Linked DNA regions of Homo sapiens: region 1 is linked to region 2. Evidence: promoter capture Hi-C in 16 types of primary human blood cells and fetal thymus (Javierre and others, 2016). All regions are on one chromosome and are shown on one strand. The core of a region is centred on a gene start or on the middle of the fragment in contact, and the rest is flanking DNA. Distances in the headings are between cores, read along the strand shown.

What was found. The method cuts DNA at HindIII sites, captures the fragments that hold promoters and counts their contacts. A CHiCAGO score of 5 or more calls a contact.
Region 1: a fragment that was not itself captured here is called in contact with the fragment with the promoter of TMEM108-AS1 in region 2 in 2 of 17 cell types (megakaryocytes and endothelial precursors); the score reaches 12.0 in megakaryocytes.

Annotation. Positions count from the first base shown.
Region 1 is chr3:132,723,704-132,728,487 of GRCh38, forward strand. It overlaps NPHP3-AS1 (NPHP3 antisense RNA 1), which reads left to right. Exons shown (of 11, transcript NR_002811.2): 2 at 3,790-3,879. Among named protein-coding and RNA genes, the nearest start is that of NPHP3-ACAD11, 3.6 kb to the left of the region's middle. The HindIII fragment of the contact is 980 bases long and covers 2,013-2,992 here.
Region 2 is chr3:133,254,421-133,258,747 of GRCh38, forward strand. It overlaps TMEM108-AS1 (TMEM108 antisense RNA 1), which reads right to left and starts at 2,701. Exons shown (of 3, transcript NR_110812.1): 1 at 2,605-2,701. All of the region lies in intron 3 of TMEM108 (transmembrane protein 108), which reads left to right. The HindIII fragment of the contact is 5,600 bases long and covers 1-3,031 here.

The DNA.
Region 1 (4,784 bases), core at 1,253-3,752, 530 kb before region 2:
TTGAACATTTTTGCATCTTAGTACCTCCTTTGGAATGGGCCTCAGCTGAACACTTCCATAACTATGCTTGAGTAAGAAGATAAAATAGCCATCACCCATTCTCTCCAACAAATAACCAAACTCACTATGCTAACTTCCTACAGCTTGGGGAGTACATTCAGATTCTACAGTCTGGAACTGAGTGCTCTGAAGCATGCATCTCTCCTTTCCCCACGTCATTTCTATCCAGTGACATGCCTCTAATCCACATTTCTCCACCCTACTTGCGTACTGATCTTAGATTACTATTGGTCAATGCCAAAGTGACCAAATTTCTTAATCCTAAAAAATGACATTATTTCTTCCTGGCTAACACGGTGAAACCCCGTCTCTACTAAAAATACAAAAAAATTAGCCAGGCGTGGTGGCAGGCGCCTGTAGTCCCAGCTACTCGGGAGGCTGAGGCAGCAGAATGGCGTGAACCTGGGAGGCGAAGCTTGCAGCCGAGATGGCGCCACTGCACTCCAGCCTGGGCGACAGAGCGAGACTACGTCTTTAAAAAAAAAAAAAAGACATTATTTCTAACCTCATAACCTGTTTTTCTTCATGCTGAATTTAACCCACGTACTTCAGTCTGCATTTTGAAAGAATAACTTTTAATACAGAAATATAGTGAGAATAAAATATTTGGCAGGTGGCTTATAACTTACTAAAGATGGCCACATTTTTTTTTAATAGTCCTCCCATAGAAAAGACAGCTAAGACAGCTACACAATTTGTGGGACCCAGTGAAAAATGAATATGTAATGCCCCTTATTCAAAAATTATAAATATTTTCAAGATGGCTACAGCAGAGCATTAAGCCAAGTATGGGGCCCTTTTGAGTTTTGGGCCCTGCGTTACTGCACATGGGGTTGCATGGCCATGAAGCAAGCCTGTATATGACTCCTCACTTTGAACCTGAGTGAACTCTGACCGCTTGGACCAGTGGAATGTGGCAGAAATGACACTGTGCCAGTTTCCAAGCCCAGGTCTTGAGAGAATGGCGACTTCCACTTCTTGTGTCTTGGAACACTCGGGAGTGTTGAGCCACCATGTAAAGACTTACTAACCTGAGACTGCCCAAATTAAGAGGTCATATGTAGGCATTCCAGGTGACAGTCTCAGCTGGGCCCAGCTTTCCAACCAGAGTACCAAGACATGTAAAATGAAGCCATCTTGGACTCTTCAGACTAGTGCATTCACTACTTAGAAATTAAGTGACTTCTGTATACACTACAGGGGAGAAAATCACCCAGCCAACCTCTGCCCACATTTCTGGCCCACAAAATCATGAGATATAATAAAATTACTGTTGGTTTGAGCCATTACATTTTGGTAATTTGTCTTTTCACCTGGAATAAGAAAAAATGTCTCTACATTTGATCGGGCAGCCTATAAATTGATAAACAATGCTACTGTCTTTTTTTTTTTTTTGAGACGGAGTCTCGCTCTCTCGCCCAGGCTGGAGTGCAGTGGCACGATCTCGGCTCCCTGCAACTTCTGCCTCCTGGGTTCAAGCGATTCTTCTGCCTCAGCCTCCCGAGTAGCTGGGATTACAGGCGTGCACCACCACCCCCGGCTAATTTTTTTGTATTTTTAGTAGAGACGGGGTTTCACCATCTTGGCCAGGCTGGTCTTGAACTCCTCACCTCATGATCCACCCACCTTGGCCTCCCAAAGTCCTGGATTAGAGGCCTGAGCCACCGCACCCGGCCTGCCATTTTTTTTTAAATGGGATTGGTAGAATAAATATCATTTGGGTAGAGTAGTGTGTATTTGGTCTTCAGACTATGAATCTCACAATCACTTGGGACATTTGGTAAAAATTTGGGGACCTTGACAATTTTGCATGTTTAGTTACTTCCCAGGTGATGCTTATGTACTTTAGGATCTCAGAACACTGAGACTGCATAAAAATTGTGGCTAGGGATGATCTAATTCCTCGCTACTCAAAGCATGGTCCTCAGGCAGTAGCATCAACATCACCCTGAAGCTTGTTAATCAGATTCTCACATGCTATCACTGACCTCCTGAATCACAATTTGCAGATTAAAAAGATCTCCCAGGTGATGTGAATATAGATTAAAATTTGAGAAGCACTACTGTAGAAAAATGGTTCTTAACCTTGGCTGCACATTACCATCACCTGGAGAACTTAAAAAAATAAAGACTGCTGCCTGGGCCTCACCCTAGACCAATTAGATCAGAATTTCCAGGAGTTGAGGTCTGAACATCATTAATTTTTTAAAGCTCCCCAGCGGATTTTAATCAGTAGTCAAGGTTAAAAACCAATGGTTTCACCTCGGCCATCTCATTATTGCCAACATGTGTGTGATCCCCATTGGTAACCATCTCAGTATCTGTTTACATGTATACAGATTCCTCTGTGACCTTTCTTCGCAGTTCATCATAGTGAAGGCAAATGTAATTTTGACTATATCGATAGTATTGTGCTTCAACTTTAGAGATAGACATGGCATCACAAATGGTCATAATGTCCTGATAAAATTTATCACTTTGGAATAAATGACCTGTATAATTGGAAATGCTTCATTGAGTAACAGTCTTTGAAGACAAAGGAACTCTGCAAAAGGAAGGGATTCTAGCTCTCACCAAAATTGCCAACCTTCTCCCAGGCTGTTTAGTCCTGCTCAGTTCTACCAAGTGAACTCTGACTTCTAAAGTCTCCTACTACAAAGTCTGTAAGTATGACCCTAATTTTAGGAACTAATTAACAATAGGGGAAAACTGTGATCAAGCAGCTGTGATTTAACATTTCTACCATTAGGGGTCAGTGTAACTCAGGAAAAAAATAATTTGGCTGTATGTATTAAAAAGGATCACCTTGTGAAGACGACAGTCTGGGTGTTGCCTTCATTAACAGTCATCTACACTGCCTTACTTAGTTCCCATCACAAGTAATAACATGACTCTGGAAATTATTATGAAACAGACAAGAGTAGGATCAGCAAGCTTTTTCTATAAAGGACCAAATAGTAAATATTTCAGTCTTTAGTCTCTGTCACATTACTCAATTCTACCATTATAGCACAAAAGCAGCCCCACACCATACACAAACAAATGGCGTGTCTGCATTCCAGTAAAACTTTATTTTAAAAAACTGGTGACTGGTTGAATTTAGCTCACAGGTTTGCTGACCCCTGAACTGGAGGAGTGGTTCTCAAACCTGGATAATTACCTGGGGAGCTTGTTAAAAATGTAGAGCCATGGACCCCACATCAAGTCCACCGAATCCAAATGTTTTTAAGTAGAGCTCACATATCTGAATTTTTTAAAGTTATCTTTTGATTTAGAAGCAAATACTAATTTAGGAACCATTAGGACAAAATAAAGTTAACTTTACCTCTTAGGAAACCGTAAAGTCCACCTTGTTACAATGTTTTTAGTATCTGAATAACTATCCATGGTATAAAAGATATAAATGTGAAGCTTAGGCTTAGATAATCTCTATAACTACTCTGAAAGTACATCAATGAAAGGCTCATTCCTCTGTAAATGTTTGTATTAAGGCCCTAGTGTTCAGATTATTTTGGCCAGAGAACAACCCAGCCTGTCCTAACAGACAGAGGGGCATACTGAATTAAATTGAACAAGGAAGGAGAAGACATTGATGAAAACAGTAAAGGAGAAGGAAAAGCGATAAGAGAAATGCTGGAGTGCTGTGTAGTATCTCCTAAAAAAATGTCCCAAATGTTCAATAAGTTTACAAATTCTGAAAAACTTGCTGTGACCTATTTTTTTTTTCAGGAATTGGTGAAGAAGAGGAGTTTAGTGCCAAGGTGGGTGCAAGAGTGAAACAAAGGCAACACATCCACATGCACTGGACAGGGAAATGGGGTAAGAATATTTTAAATATGGGGTATCCATTCTTTTATGAAGTATGTGTTCTAACGATAGTGTTTCCCTGGGCTGTTTCCCCTTGGGCTAATCAAATATATGGATATATAGAAGGCCATGCTTTAAGAAGAGCTGCAATGGGTTTTGTTAAGAATACCATAGCCAATATGTTTACCTGTGGTCCTGTATAAAGCATACTGCACATTTGGGATATTTGTTTAACAAATAAAGGGGTTCTATTTCTCCATAACAGCCTCTAGGATGAAAGAAGCCATTTATTTCTTATTTGCTGAGAAATGTCCCTTTGTTTCTCAAATTCAAGGCTATTCTCCGACCTCTCTCCGCCTCTGCCTCATGTTCATCTGTGAAGTTGAATATAATCTTAAATTCTTCTATGGAGCCATCTATCCCAAACCTAGTAACCAGCACCCACTTCAGGTTGTCATTAGTGACTATTATTTTTTCTTACACTCAATGCCCACATGCCAGGATGAAGATGAGGCGCCATATTCAATTAGCTCCTATGAAGGAGAGATGAAGTCTTCACTACTGTATACATTTGAGATGTGCCTTTTCTGACATAAATCAGCCACAGAGAAAAGAGTCAGCTGACATTTGTAGTTGCAAGGGGAAAAAAAATCTCTTCACAAGTAATGTATGAATAAAAGTGGCTGATTGTAACTGTAAGAGCTTAAAACAGCCCGGCGTGCTGGCTCATGCCTGTAATCCCAGAATTTTGGGAGGCCAAGGCAGGTGGATTGCTTGAGCCAGGAGTTTGAGACCAGACTGGGGAACACGGTGAAACCCACTGTCTACAAAAAATAAAAAAAATAGCCAGGCGTGGTGATGCACACCTGTAGTCCCAACTACTCGGGAGGCTGAGGTGGGAGGGTTGCTTAAGCCTG
Region 2 (4,327 bases), core at 1,451-3,950:
AAAATAGTTCCAGTTGGTAACACCTTCTGGGACCCAGCTAAAACAAATGGAAATTCTCTTGGTAGGAAAATGTTCTCAACCAAGGTGCCTCAAGATACTTGCATATTAACGTCAGTCGAATATGTGATCTCAGTAAAAAGTTACCAAATACATAAGAAAGCAAGCTATGATAAGCAAGACTCAGCAAAAGGGAGAGGAGAAAAAAAAGAGATTGATGATTGATTGATTAAGACTGCCAAAAACTTAGAATTATCAGATACTGAATATGAACTACTTGATATTCTCATAATCTATTAATGTTTAACAATTACCCCAGACCTTCGTGGCATAAAACAACCATGTATTATGCTCATGGAGTCTGTGGGTCAGTGACTTAGGATATAGGAAGAATGATTTGTCTCTGTTCCATGTTGTCTGGGTCCTCAGCTAGATGGCCTGAAGGCTGAAGTGACTTGACAGCTGACTGCTGCAATACTCTGAAGTCTCATTCATTCATATTTCTGGTGGTTCATGCTGGCTGTGAATGGGACCTTAGTTGGAGTTATCAACCACACACCCAAATGTGGCCTCTCCATGTGGCCTTGACTTCTTCACAGTATGTTAATTGGTTCCCAGGGTGTGTGCAGAGAGAACCAGATAGAAGTCATATAATCCTTTCTAACCTACCTTCAGAGTCATGCAGCATCACTTCCACAATATTTTACTCATTAAGGAGATTACATGGCCTAGCCAGGCTTGAGGGAAGGGAAAATGTATTTCATTTCTTGATGAGGATTGGCAAGGTTCTGAGAAGGCATTTGGAGCCAGAGTATTGTTGCATCCATTTTAGAGACAGTCTGTTACACTATATAAAAATACTGAAACAAAAGATGGAAATAGGGGAGGAAGATTATGAGACGATAGACTACTCAACTTGAAAAAAGACCCAGCTACAACTTACAAAATTAAAAACATGTAATTATTGGAATTTAAAATTCAGTGGATGGCTTAACTAGCAGATTAAACATCTTCTTTAAAAATATCAATGTACTAAAACAGAGCTTAAGAAATTACTTGGAATATACTATGGAGAAATAAGAAAGTAAAAAAATGAGAAAGGGTAATTGAGACACAGAAGCTAGTATGAGAAGGCCTAACATAAGTACAGGTGGGGGTTCAAGAACGAGAGAATAGAGACAATGGGGGAGACGTATTTGAAAACATAATGGCTTAGAATATTTTCTAGAATGTATGAAAGATATGCATACTCAGATTCTGGGAATACTGTGAGTCTCAAAAATAATAAGGGCTGGGCGTGGTGGCTCACGCCTGTAATCCAAGCTCTTTGGGTGGCCGAGGTGGATAGATCACCTGAGGTCAGCAGTTCAAGACCAACCTGGCCAACATGGTAAAACCCCATCTCTACTAAAAATATAAAAATTAGACAGGCATGGTGGTGCACGCCTGTCATCCCAGCTACTCAAGAGGCTGAGGCAGGAGAATTGCTTGAACCTAGAAGGCGGAGCTTGCAGTGAGCCGAGATCATGCCACTGCACTCCAGCCTCTGCACTGGCTGACAGAGTGAGTCTCCTTCTCAAAAATAAATAAATAAATAAACAACAAGAACTGCATGCATGCCTGGTTATAAAAACAGCAAATAAAGAGATAATCCTAAAAGCAGCCAGAGGAAAATGTTCCTTATAAAGGAATAATATTTAAACTGATGGTTGACTTCTCAACAGCCACCACAGAATCAAGGAGACAGTGAAATAATATCTTTAAAATGCTGATAGAAAACAACCAGCAACTTGGAATTAAAGATCTGATCAAATAATCATTAAAGCACGAGGGTAAAATAAAGACATTTTCAGATATTTTTTAAAGTAGAACATTTTCACAGATGGACATTCATTTACAGAACTTCTAAAAGATATGCCTCAGGAAAAAGAACATTTCTTCTGAGAAACAAGGTCTTAAATATAAGAAGGAATAGCCAGCAAAGAAATTGGCAAACATAGTAGTCAACCCAAGCAAACATTTTCTGTATGAAACATATAATAATGTCTAATATGTGGGGTTAATGAAAAACAACACAGAATAAATATACTAGACAATAATAGCAGTTAAGTTGGGAGGGGATGAAGAGAATCAAAGTCTTATAAATTCCTTGTATTGTTAGGATGGAAAATATATCAATTAACTTAGGCATAGTCAAGTTTTAGTAGGCATGGCAAAATTTCAAGGAAACTACTAAAAGACATAGAATTCATAACTTCCAAACCAGTAAAACAGAACTATTAGAATAAGAAAGAAAAAACTCAGTCCAAAGGAAGGCAATCAAGAAGGGGAAAATAGATATAGAGAAATCTGGATAAGTAGGACAAGGCAGAAATAAATCCAAATGTCAGTAAGCACAGTAAATGTAAATGGACCAAACTAGCCAGTTAAGTGCTCCACAATTCACTTCATGAAATTACTATAACCTTAATGCAAAAGCCAGAAAATGATAGTATGAGAAAGTAAAATTACTGAGTCAGTCTTACCCGTGAACATAGTTCTAAAGTCATGGCTTGGTGAGAGGGATGACAATCATGAAACTGAAAGGGAAACAGTGCCTGTACTTACCATCCCTGATGTCAAAATGCCTGCAAGGACACTGCCTTCCTTTAGTTTATTTCTTGGGTAGAGACGACAGGAGGTCTTTATTGATATTATCTCATTTGAGATTGTCTCTTAATATTCATAACCTAAGGCTGCTATACAGTGCCTGTGTTATATAACAGCACCTCTTTTACAACTCAGGATGTCACAGTATTATGAGTAATGAGGTGCTTGTGGGAGTTATTGAAGGATTAACTATAGACTTGTAACCAATCCAAGAATTGCAGGAGATGAGGCACCCTCGTAAAGAATTTATCAAAGTAATTTGTCTATGTTGCTGTGGACAGATTACATTCTTATTCACTCTCTGAAAGTTTATTGCCAGTCTCTGAGTAGTTACAAATGCATTATTAATAATCCTTAGAAAAGCAATACATTGTTGCATGGCTTAAGCTTTGCTCGTGTCTAGAAATTTGGAACAGTTGAACCTGACTTCATTTCACTGCCTCTTAAAACTTGATCCCCCTGAAACAAAACCTAAAGAAGTATTGTGTTTCTCCCTCTAAATTCAGTGAATCTACTTGTCATTTATTCAGTGGTATTTGAAAGCTTAAGTTGGCAAATTAGACTAATATTAAAAACTTAGATATGCCTCTCTTCCTTCCCCATCTTTGAGAGCTGTTACTGAGTAAAGGAGCAAATGAAAAGGGATGAAACTCTCTGGTAGTTAAGTAGTGTATCTAAACTAAGTGGAGTAGATACTGCCTAGTTGTAAACTTCAGCCAGTTGTCTGTTGAGAAAGACAGGTGCAGGGGCTTTTCTTTTTTATTTTTCATGCAACAACTTACTTAGTGTATAACACTGAGCTATCCCTGTTTGGAAGAAGCCAGAGGCCCAGAAAATTTTTGCTAAAGGAGGGGTTGCTTTATGTATCTCCTTTAAAGGGAGATGGGTAGGACAGGATTCAGATGCTCCTGAGTCCCATAGTGAAAATACCATTTATAACCTGCTGTAGACTGTATGTTTATGATCCCCCCAAATTCATATGTTGAAACCTGAAGCCCAATGTGATGGTATTTGGAGGTGGGGCCTTTGGGAGGTGATTAGGTCATGAGGGTGGATCCCTCGTGAATGGGATTAATGCCCTTATAAAAGAGACCTTAAGGAGCTTTCTCACCCCTTCCTCCGTTTGAAGACATGGTGAGAAGGTATGGTCTATGAACCAGCCAGCGGGCCCTCACCAGAAACTGAGTCTGCTGGCACCTTGATCTTGGGCTTCTCAGCTTCCAAAACTATGAGAAGTAAATTGCTGTTGTTTGGTATTTTATTATAGCAGCCCTAACAGACTAAGATCCTCACCATAGTTTCCATCAAGCTACAAGAAGGGCATGTTGTGAAGGCAGGAAAGCATACCATGTGGTGGGCCCAGGCTGAAAGGAGCCAGCTGCCCACACCACCTCGCTTTTGATAAAGTTGGATGGAGGGGGGTGATGGAAGTCCAAAGGAATTCCTTAGGTGTTTGTGTCTCACATCCTTATCTCTGAGGCAGCTGCTGCCAGCTCATCTCCCTGTCCCTGCAGCTCAGAGGGCAGAGAGGTGCATTCCCTAGAACCAGTCAGCATTCAGAGCTGTTTGGCATCACCACTGCCTCATACTGCTATTCTTCATCCTCTTCAGACTGTATCCACTCTGACTCAGTGGTCATCCCCAAAACTTTGCATGAAGCAAAAGGAACTCTTCATTCAGA